Regions from separate parts of the Homo sapiens genome. Here all the other regions are linked to region 1. The links are contacts of gene promoters, found by promoter capture Hi-C in blood cells and fetal thymus (Javierre and others, 2016). All regions are on one chromosome and are shown on one strand. The core of a region is centred on a gene start or on the middle of the fragment in contact, and the rest is flanking DNA. Distances in the headings are between cores, read along the strand shown.

The links. The method cuts DNA at HindIII sites, captures the fragments that hold promoters and counts their contacts. A CHiCAGO score of 5 or more calls a contact.
Region 2: a contact is called between a fragment that was not itself captured here and the fragment with the promoter of SUV39H2 in region 1, in 1 of 17 cell types (naive CD8 T cells). The highest score is 6.1, in naive CD8 T cells.
Region 3: a contact is called between the fragment with the promoter of RSU1 here and the fragment with the promoter of SUV39H2 in region 1, in 6 of 17 cell types (fetal thymus, neutrophils, naive CD8 T cells and 3 more). The highest score is 12.3, in fetal thymus.

What each region holds. Positions count from the first base shown.
Region 1 is chr10:14,876,565-14,880,115 of GRCh38, reverse strand. It overlaps SUV39H2 (SUV39H2 histone lysine methyltransferase), which reads right to left and starts at 1,250. Exons shown (of 6, transcript NM_001193424.2): 1 at 1,197-1,250. The coding sequence starts at 1,227. It overlaps SUV39H2-DT (SUV39H2 divergent transcript), which reads left to right and starts at 1,457. Exons shown (of 1, transcript NR_186426.1): 1 at 1,457-3,551. RefSeq lists a silencer at 777-1,516. The HindIII fragment of the contact is 2,774 bases long and covers 1-2,465 here.
Region 2 is chr10:13,594,904-13,598,418 of GRCh38, reverse strand. It overlaps PRPF18 (pre-mRNA processing factor 18), which reads right to left. Exons shown (of 10, transcript NM_003675.4): 2 at 884-961. Among named protein-coding and RNA genes, the nearest start is that of PRPF18, 9.7 kb to the right of the region's middle. The HindIII fragment of the contact is 1,428 bases long and covers 630-2,057 here.
Region 3 is chr10:16,816,004-16,819,267 of GRCh38, reverse strand. It overlaps RSU1 (Ras suppressor protein 1), which reads left to right and starts at 1,844. Exons shown (of 9, transcript NM_012425.4): 1 at 1,844-1,953; 2 at 2,184-2,295. The coding sequence starts at 2,187. It overlaps LOC105376435 (a long non-coding RNA gene), which reads right to left and starts at 1,569. Exons shown (of 3, transcript XR_930708.3): 1 at 1,512-1,569; 2 at 526-587. RefSeq lists enhancers at 1,226-1,275, 1,306-1,395, 1,426-1,535, 2,206-2,365. The HindIII fragment of the contact is 3,392 bases long and covers 1-1,913 here.

The DNA.
Region 1 (3,551 bases), core at 1-2,500:
AGTCCCTTCCATCTACAAAAACTAGAGAACGTTTTGTGTTAAGCTGACCTCATTAAGGGAATCACGTATAAAGGAGGTTCCTCTTATCTACTCAAGGTGTGTTTGTGTGCTTTTCCTAAACATTTTTATCTAGTTGAGGATTCAAAACACAACCCGCAAAGGAAATGCTCTTTGAAAATTAAAAAAAAAAAAAAAGTGAACATGAAAAACTGCAAACACGTGGTTAAAAAAAGAAAGACAATCTCTCGACAGTCTCCAGTAATGCAGAAAAAGATTTCACTGACAAAATTAAATAGTTCATGACCACCACAAACACCTTCCGCTGGTTCACAGTAACCCCTGACATTCTCCAAGGAGAAAAATTCAGGGATAATGAGGTCATAATCCCAGCGGAGAGGAGACGAGCTTGAAAACACCTTTACATTCCGGAACGCACGGAAAAGTTCCAGGCTCTCAAAGCGTGCGCGACACCAACACCCCCCGACGCCCACACCCACGCGCGCTCGGTGCCCAGTTCCCCGGTGCCCAATTCCCCAGCGTCCACAGAAATAACACCAAGCTCCCGGTGGGTGAAAGAGTTACCGTAAGCCAGAGGCTGCAACCTCAAATACCCACTTTCTGGGCGATTCTCCAACGAGGCACTCAACCTCCTAGCGTGTCCGCCTTGGGGGGGATTCCTCGCTTATCCCCTTTCTTAGCACACAGGCGCCCCGATTTACTCTCCCCCTCTGATATTAAGGTCATGTTCACGCCGGCGGGCGTCGCTTCCCGCCTCCCACTTCAAAGGCCCGGGCGCATGCCGCACGCCGCGCTCGAACCACCACAAAGGAGCCAGTCGCAGCCGTGCCCCCCGGACCTCCAACCGGGGACTGCCGGGGAGCGGCCTCGAAGCCCGAGGCCGCCACGGGAGACGCGGAGGGGGCCGGGCCGAGCGGGCGGAGAGGCCACGCTCCACTTCCGAAGTGCCCCAGGCTCGGACAGTGCCCACCTCCGCGGCGGGAGCCGGCCGGGCAGGGAGGCGGGTCAGCGGCCTGGGGGAGGATAGGCGTCCGCAGCGTGCGTCCCGGAGTTGGGGTCGCGGCGGGCGGGGAACCGCCACGTCGCCATCTGGCTGGCCCGCGGGACGGCCCCGCCGCCCGGGCCTTGGGAGCTTGCCTGGGAACAGGGAAGGCGAGGGGGCCGCGCTCCAGCCTCACCTCCTCGCGCCTCGGCCCCGACCGCCGCCATCTTGTAGAGCTTTCATTCAAACTGGCGCGGTCTGACGGGATAGCTCAGCTGGCCCGACGCCCCGCCCCTGGCCGGCCCGCGCGGGACTTGGGGGCCGGGGCTTGTTGGGGGACGGAACCCGCACGGCGTCCTGACGTCACTGGCGGCCGACCCCCCGCCGCGGCGGCCAGCGCGCCTGCGCCCCAAAGCTAGGCCCGGCCCCAAGCGCGAGGAGCGGGGCGGGGCGAGCGCGCGTGCTCCCGGATCCTCGGCAGTGTCCGGCGCCCCCTTCCCTTCGCCAGGCCCGTTTGGCGCCTTCACTCGGGAAGACGTCGGCCAGGACTTTGCGCTTTGGAGACGTCTTACTTCGGCAGCACTCGCACACTGCGAGATCCGACACGGGCAGCGGGGACCTAGGGAGCCGGGGACGCTGCCTGTCGGGTACGGTTCCGCAGCTACCGCAGCCCCGTGGGCCATGGTTAGTCTCCCCCCGACACCGCTCCCTCTAGAGCTCCGGGCTTCGGAAGCGGCTGCACGTGGGCATGGCTGGAGAGGTTCCGCTGGCTTGGGGCAGTCGCCGGGATTCCGACTGGTTGGTGTGGGGTGTGGCCTGTGCTATCCAGCTCCCAGCTGATCCTAATGTGCGGCACAGCGGAAACCACCGGTCCACATCAGTGCTTCTCACTTAAAGGGGCTTACGAATCGTCGGGGGTGGGGGAGCTGGACTTGGAATTTTTTAAGAGATGAGGTCTCACTCTGTCACCCAGGCTGGAGTGCAGTGGCGCGATTACGGCTCACTGCAGACTAGACCTCCTGGGCTCAACTTTAATGTAAATTGGGATTGGGTAGGTCTGTAAGGGGACCCGAGCTCCCCTCCCATGTTGTTGCCAAGCTCCTGAGCTCGGCCTGGTGGCGGGTGGGGGCCGGGAGGAGAAGGACACGTTAGTAAGGAAGCTGCAGGACGACTCCAGGGGCCTCCCACCTGGTCTCCACCCCCCTCCCCCACCCATTCTTGACGCTGCATCCATGATTGTTCTAAACAACCTAAAGCAGAAATCTTAGAGCAAATAACGAAAACTGGCAGAAGGCCATTTGATATCTCCTTAAAAAATTCATGTAAAAAATTACATAAACGTTTCAAAGCAGTATGTATAAATTTGAAATACTGGAAATGAACGCAGACCATTAAAGGAATAGTTAATTATTTGATTCCATTATGAAATACTGTCTAGCCGTCTTAAAAAGGTGTTCATGAAGCTTTTAGTATTCAGCAAAACCAAAACAAATCCCCCTGAAATATAGTTTTAACTATGGAAGAAAAAAATGTATAGGAAAATAACGAAATAGCCTTTTCGGAGTGATTTTCTTTTTAACTTCTCGTTTTTAAATATTTAATCATTTTCTACGATGGGAAACACCACTTCCTCACACACACTCATGCTCCCAGACTTTATTTAGCTACAAACGGCATCATAATACAAATACTGTTCTGCAGTCCGTGTGTGTTTCAATGCAACTGCATTTCTCAGACATGTTTCTAAGATTTGAGTCCTTAGTAAATTTTGTATTCCATATCTCATTACCTTGAGATAAGGAATAAAAGGCCCTGTCCAACCCTGTCACCTGGAAGAGCATCCAGGCCCTTTAAGGCTTAGTCTATCTAGGATTATGCCTTCAGACTTGGATACAGCCTCCCGTCCTAACCGGCCCCTGTATTCATTACCTCTCCTGTATGTTTTCAGAGCCCACCAAGGAGCGGCCATCGCTACTCACTGGCCACTCTTGAATCCTTTTTGGCTCCTTTTCCTCAGTCCAACCTGGGTTCCTCAGAGAAGAGACTGTAGTCCTGGGACTGCATTTCTTTTCCGCCCTCTCCCTATGTGACTGCCCCAATTCCCATGGATTTAAATAGCATCTTGACACACAAGATGCCTCACTTATCGTCTCCGGCCCTGGCCTCTGCCTGAATTCCAGGCTAGAATATCCACAGTGCGTAATGGACATATGCCCTTAGGTGTTGCACAAACATCTCAAATTGAACATATCCGGAAAAATACACTTCTGAACTTCGTAGCATTCAGAATAAAACTCAAACCTCCAGATGGCCGGCAGGGCCTCCAGTGATGGGAATCCTGTCTCACCTCACTTGGTGCCACTCTCCCCTTTACTCATTTTCCTGGCCTTTCCCCGGCCCCACTTACCCAGAAATCTTTTACTGTGCATCTCCTATGTGCCAGGCACCTGATAGGTGCTGGGAATATAGCAGTGGATGAGAAAGAAAAAAGACCCAGTCCTCATGGAGCTGACTTCCTAGTGACAGGAGCAGCGGATAAAGCAAATCACTG
Region 2 (3,515 bases), core at 94-2,593, 1.3 Mb after region 1:
CTTTCCCCATTACATGCACAAAAGTATTATCTTATATTGATATTTTACAAGCAAAAGGTTAATTACAAGTTTATGATTTGGCAAAAGTATTCCAATAGAACCTCTGAGCTTTGAGTTAAAAATTAAGCTAGATATAGTCTTCTTTTAAAATAATTTAAACGTAACTTCTCCACCTTATACCCTTTAACCCCTCCCAATAAAACCACAATACATTATCAACTAATTTCTTCTAAAATATACAAGCAAAGCCTTCCAGACAACTCATTTGTTTCTAAGAAATATTTCAAGATGACATTTTCTATCCAACAGACTAAACAGTGTTTGAAATGTGATACCTTATTACAACAAAGGCATATAAATATATACGGCTTTATACTTTAGGCAGAGGTTCTTAGGACCCAAAAGGACGTATTAACAATGCAAACATAAAATCGATGGCTTAAAATATTCCGGAGAAGGCAGGAAAATTACCACCACTAATATTACTGTGGCTGGATGAATAAATGTTTTGAAGTCTTTCCAAATAGACTGTTTTATTGGGAGAGGTGGGGGAGAGGAGTGGTGGTGGAGCTGAAAATAACGCAGTCTCAGATTCAGGACTTTATTAAAAAAAAAAAAAAATTCAAGCTTTGATCTCAAGCCACTTCATGCCGTCCACAAAAAGCCAAACCATTCCAAGCCAAAAGTCATGCATGTATTTTCCTGAATTCAAGATTTTTTTAAAAATGCAAAAACAAAAACTCATACCTCTCCAGATGGCTTCTCATTTATAGGCTAACGTATATTGATAAATTGAACAGAGATCAATGATTGTCATTTAACAACAGCTGTATAAATTTAAACTCAGAAATGTACAATTTAACATAAAAGCAGACATTCATACCTTGTAGCCACATCTTTCAAAATATGCTTCCTCTTCTTTTTTGGCGAGCTCACTACGCTTGAAATATTTTTTATTTTCCTATTAAAGAAAATAAATTATGTCAATAATATATCCTTGAGCAAAATTTCATGTCCCATAGTCAACAAATACCTTTAGAAAACTTTGGAAACACTCTTCAGTTTTTCAAGAATTGGATAAAATAAATATTTTTTGGTTCCAGAGATGAATACATTGATTCCCCAAGCACATCAACAACCCTCCACTACGACTATGGGCACCGATATGTGGTAAGTTCAAGTATTTTTCTTGCAGTATCAATCAGTAGGCAAGTCCATCAGCAAAGAGGAGACCAAGAATATTTTCCAAATGTTTTCACTTCTTAATGTCTGAGTTCAATGATAATTTCTTCAAATGGATTCATTATGAAACACATAAAATGGTATACCTCAATTATTTTTTCCTAACAGAAACAAAATTATGACATATATAGCCTACATTTGATATCCCACATAACAAGGGAACTCCAGGAGTGTAAGTTCTTTCTTGTTACCTGGAACCTTATTATATCAATCAGTTCTTAAAATAATCTACATATAGGGTGGTCTTGGTGAACTCTTTTATTTAAAAAATGATTTAAGGATATTTGGGGTTTTTTGTGCGTTTTTCTGGTTTTCTGTTTGTTTTGGAGACAGGGTATCTCTCTGTCACGCGGGCTGGAGTGGAGTGGCACAATCAAGGCCACAACTTCGACTCCCTGGGTTCAAATGATCCTCTCACAAGGTATTTGTTGTGATATGATTTGATGTAAAGAGACAAGCTCTAAATCTTGTCTGTGGCTAAAAAGATGTCAGTCCTTTCCACATTATACATAAAATTATCCTTATTGTTACATCTACAGTCCGTAATTTGGAGGCTTGTTGCCATCGCAGCTCTGCCTCTTGGATATTATTCCAAAGATGGCTTTGTTCAAATAAAGACACTGTCCCCGACTGTATTAACAGTAATGATATAATATTACCTGTGTACTACCTCCACACAAGTATTTAGCACCTCATAGTTCCAAAGCTCATTCACTCAGACAATGATCATCAATGGATGCTAAAACCTTATGAAAAAGGCCAATGGTGACAATGGAAAGATGAGCCTGCCACCATTTGAACCCAATGATCAAGCTTGACATCAGTAAAAGATTATGTACCACCTATGTTATACTACAGGAATTACCCAGCCATCGTCTACGAAGTATCCTTGTTAAATGTAGGGAAGAGAGGAATTAACTAAGTGTCAATATGCCAGGAAGCAATTACACAAATCAAAGACATTTTACAAAACTAGCCCCAGTTTCTCCAGCAAGTCAATGGCATGGAAAAAATCAGCCAAGTTGAGAAAATGACAACGTTCTTCATTAAAAGAAACCAAGATTCATAATAAGCAAATGCAAGGATTGAACTTCGTGTTGACCTGACTTGAAAAACCAACTGTAAAAGCAAATGTATGTACATATTTTAATTCAGTTGGAAAATATACGAATGTGAGAAGAGTATCTGATAAAATTAACAAACTAATTTTAATTTTGTTGGGTGTGATCATATTTTGGTTTTAAAGGAACATGTCATTTTCTAGAGCTGCATGTTTCAGGGGAAGGATATACAGGGGCTCATCATAAAATTTTATCTATTTTTGTATTATGTTTAAAACTTTCAGAATAAGGTTTTTCTAAAAGTTCATTCCTTAATTCAATAAACATTTCCAGACTTATCTACCACACAACAAGCACAGTTTTACGGAAATAAAGATGAAGATGTTATCTGGGGTAAGGAACCGATGGTATCATCTGAACATCAAAACTACCCTGAGTACGGTGGGGGCAAATAGTATTAACCCCTTTTTAGAGATGAGAACGCTGAGAATTAGGTTAGGTGACATTCCCAGAACTCAGGAAGAATGATGAGTAGCAACTAGAACTCTGGTCCTTAAACCCTTTGTTCTGATCTAGTCTTCCAAGCTACAGTTCTTCACTCCCAAAATATTATTTCGGCATCTAAAATTGTTTTTGACTAGGTAGTATATAATTGTCATATTTCAAATAAGTTGGCAAACACACATTGGTATCCTCTCAGAAAGGGCTGTGTAGAAAGAAAGGAAAAAACACTCTCCAGGCCGGAGGCCATGGTCCAATCTTTTTAACTATGTTATCTTTGATGACCATGTCTCAATTCCATTGAACACACCTAACAAAATCTCAAGCCTAGAACATCTCAAAATGTGGTCCACAGAGGCTCTTTCAGAGGTTTTGCAAGGTCAAATTTATTTTCATGATATACTAAGACATTATGTGCCCCGTTTTCATTGTGCTCAGATTTGCACTGACAGTCCAAAAGCAACATGGGGGGAGGATTTGGGAAGGGGGACTACTGGCATCAGCAAAAATAAAGGCAAGGCCTTCAAACTGTATTCTTCACCAACATGCACTTACAAAAAAATAAAAAGTCTAGTTTCTCTTAAGAATGTCCTTGACGAAGTATAATTAGCATAATTTTCCTAAATCTCAACCTTTGAGTACACAGCCTTTTAATAATCAGCATGAAAAAATAAAATGTATAAAGCACTTTTGTTACATACTAAAGTAGAA
Region 3 (3,264 bases), core at 595-3,094, 1.9 Mb before region 1:
GAGAAGACAGTCGTCCACGAGGCAGGGGAGAGGCCACAGGATAAATCAAATCTGCTGGCACCTTGATCTAGAACTTCCAGGATTGTGAGAAATTTCTGTTGTTTAAGCCATCCAGGCTGTGGTATATTGTTACGACAGCCCTAGCCGACTAACACAGGTACTGTATGTCTTCAGCCTACCTAGGCAAGATTCACTATTAGAAATTGATAGAATAAGAAAAATTCTGATTGCTTCAAAACAGGACTTTTGCTTTAAAAGAGTTAATGATTCAAGAAATAAATGTATTAGGAGATTACCTACTAATACGTATTGATGAAATTATGAAGTTAGAAAATCATCAGTGGATGCTAAAACTTGTGGGTAAAAATTAGATGAGGAATGGGGTGTAATCAAGTAGCACCTCCCCCCAGCATTATTTTTAATCATAAAGAAAAAAATAGTAACTTTATGGTGAAGAAACCTGGCAGACACTACCTTATTTAAGTGAACATCACCTATACTGGGAGAAACCGATGCCATCTGTACCTTGATATCATGCACTGGAAAAGACACATCGCTTTAGTGGTGTTTCTCCAAAAATTCATAACCTGAAAGGGAACATCAAACTTACTTTGAAGGATATTCCACACAATACCTGGTCTGTATTCTTAAATAATGTCTAGTTCAATAAACATAAAAGCCAAGGACGGTTCCAGATCAAAGAAGACTAATGGAGGAATAACTCTTTCATCTGGAATGTTTTTTAAGCAAGAAATACCTGCTTTCGAATTTAAGAGTGCAGATCCTTTTTTTATCCAATTGGTTCGGAGATATAATTACATTATTTTACCACATCTCCTTAAGGCTTTGATCCCTGCTACAATCTACAATATATAAATGCATATGTGTGGCATCCGTCTTATCATCAATTTAGGTGACCAGTAGAAGAAAAGTGCCTGGTGCCAATTTTTATTCCATAGTATAAAATAGTCTCTCAGGACAGGGTTTTTGGTGAGAGAAGCACAGGATGTTGCTGGGTGACTGAGACTGGGTCAGGAAATAGGGAGGCAGAGGGCAACAGTTTCTCTAGAATTTAAAATTTGGTTGCTTTTGGAAGAGAAAGCAAGAGATTCCTGGAAGCCAGAACGTCATGTTTCACAAATGTAAAAGTCCTAGTTGGGAAAGACACATCGCTTTAGTGGTGTTTTCAAATGACTTTTAAAATAGTAGGGTTTTACTTGTAGGTTCTAGCTACAAGTAAAAAGGCTAAAAGCCAGCCTTAGAAACCTGTCAAAAAAGATTTCCAGCAGGGCGCTGGGGAAACGCAGACCGCGCCGGAATCCCCGCCTGGAGAAGCTCTTAATAGGGCGGGAAACTGCGTGCCCCACAAGGTCCCTCAGAGGCACATTGTGGAGACGGGCTCAGGGTAGCAACTTCTGGCGAGTGGAGCGGCTATTACACAAGCGAAACATTCGGAAGCAATTTACTTCCAGCTTTCGCAACACCCACCCTGAGCCACCACCCTCCCTTACACAGTCACGCCACAAACTTCCCCACTTCCGCCCACAGCCCTCTGGGCTTCGACCCATCAACTGAGCTTGCGCCAAGTCTACTGCGCACGCGCCAACTTCGGCCCAATCAGCGTCCCAAACCGTGGGGTGGACGCCACCGGGATAAACTATCCTCAGCGTGGGGCGGGGTCTCGAAGCCGAATAACGAACGTGATTAGCCAGCCTCTTCCACAGACTTTTAAGGGCGGAGCCTGGCCCTGGAGACACGTCTGGAGAGCTGTTCTCCTAATATGGGTAGGGTCGGGCGTGGAGCTGGCAGCGGCGCTGTGTGCGCCTGCGCGGGGCGCCGAGACAGGGCGTGTTCGCTGTTCAGTGCCGGTGTTGCAGGGAGTGAGGGCAGCTGGAGTGCGTTCTGCCGAAGCTTGTGGTTGCACGCCCATCGTCTTAGGGGCTACCTTCCGTGGTGAGTGTGTGCGGTGTTGCACTTGGGGTTGCTTCTCGCTGCGTGGCCGCAGCGGGGCTGAACCCTTCCCACTCCATCCCCTCCCCGCACCCGGACCAGCCCCTGGGACGCCCTCGGACGCCCACCCGCTCCAACCCTGGGGAAGCCTCAGAGTGGCAGCGAAGGCCTCTTGCCTTTCCGCCTCTGCGCTTGCTGTCATCGCCCACGTGCTTTGTTGTTGTTCGGTGCAGACCATGTCCAAGTCTCTGAAGAAGTTGGTGGAGGAGAGCCGGGAGAAGAACCAGCCCGAGGTGGACATGAGTGACCGGGGCATCTCCAACATGCTGGATGTCAACGGCCTCTGTGAGTTCTCGGGCAGGACTCTCCCGTGGATGAGCTGGAAGGCTTTCTAAGTTTGCCAATTCACTGCTGGTCCTGCTGTGAGCGATTGTACTGGTTTAGACCCCAGCCCCTGCTTGTAAACCTCACTTGTCAGGGGCTTCGCGCAGAGGGTTTGCAGTAGGATTTGTTCTGTTCCACCTGGAAAACGATCCTGAGAGTCCACGATGAGAATCACACAGACAGCTGTGCCTCATCGGTTGTCTCTGCTGTATGGCATTGAGGTGGATTTTCCACAGTTTGCTTAATAGTCACTTTAATTATAAATTGAAAATTAATTTTGAGTCCTTCTTCCTGTCTCCTAATACAGTCTTTGTCCATGAACAAATGACACAGAAAAGTTCCATGGTTAATAAGCATTCTTGTGCCTGGAGCGTTTTAAGCATTTCTTGAATCTTTACATTCTTCTGAGTATTTATTCTCCGAACTTGGTTCAGGCTTTTGTCACCTCCTCATGCTGTGGTGAAATCCTCCTAACTTGCCCTCTTGCCTTCAGTTTCACTGCCCAGTTTAATCACTGGGTCACTTTCAGTGTCATTTTCCTGTAACCCCTGTCTATGGTGTTACCCTCTCCCTTAAAACCAGGGATTGCAGATTCACATGCCTCCAAGTGAGGGCGGTCAGGGGCGGTTATGAACTAGGTGATAGGTGTCCCACTTGAAGGGGCCAGCTGCTGCACCTGCTACTCAGACACATGTCACCATAGGAATGTTGGCCCAATGTGCCAGATTATTTTCTTAAAGGAACCAAGATTCTATATTTTTATGTGAAATTTGCTAATTTTTAGATGTTGGCTACTAATTCTAATATTTGAAAAACCTGTGATAAGTGAGCTAAAGCAGTTCTTCAGGCTGACGTGGCTTTGGTTTAAACCCTCTCCGCACTTCTCCAGGTTGTCCATTATCGACGGTAATGCTCCAGGTTTCTTGGCGT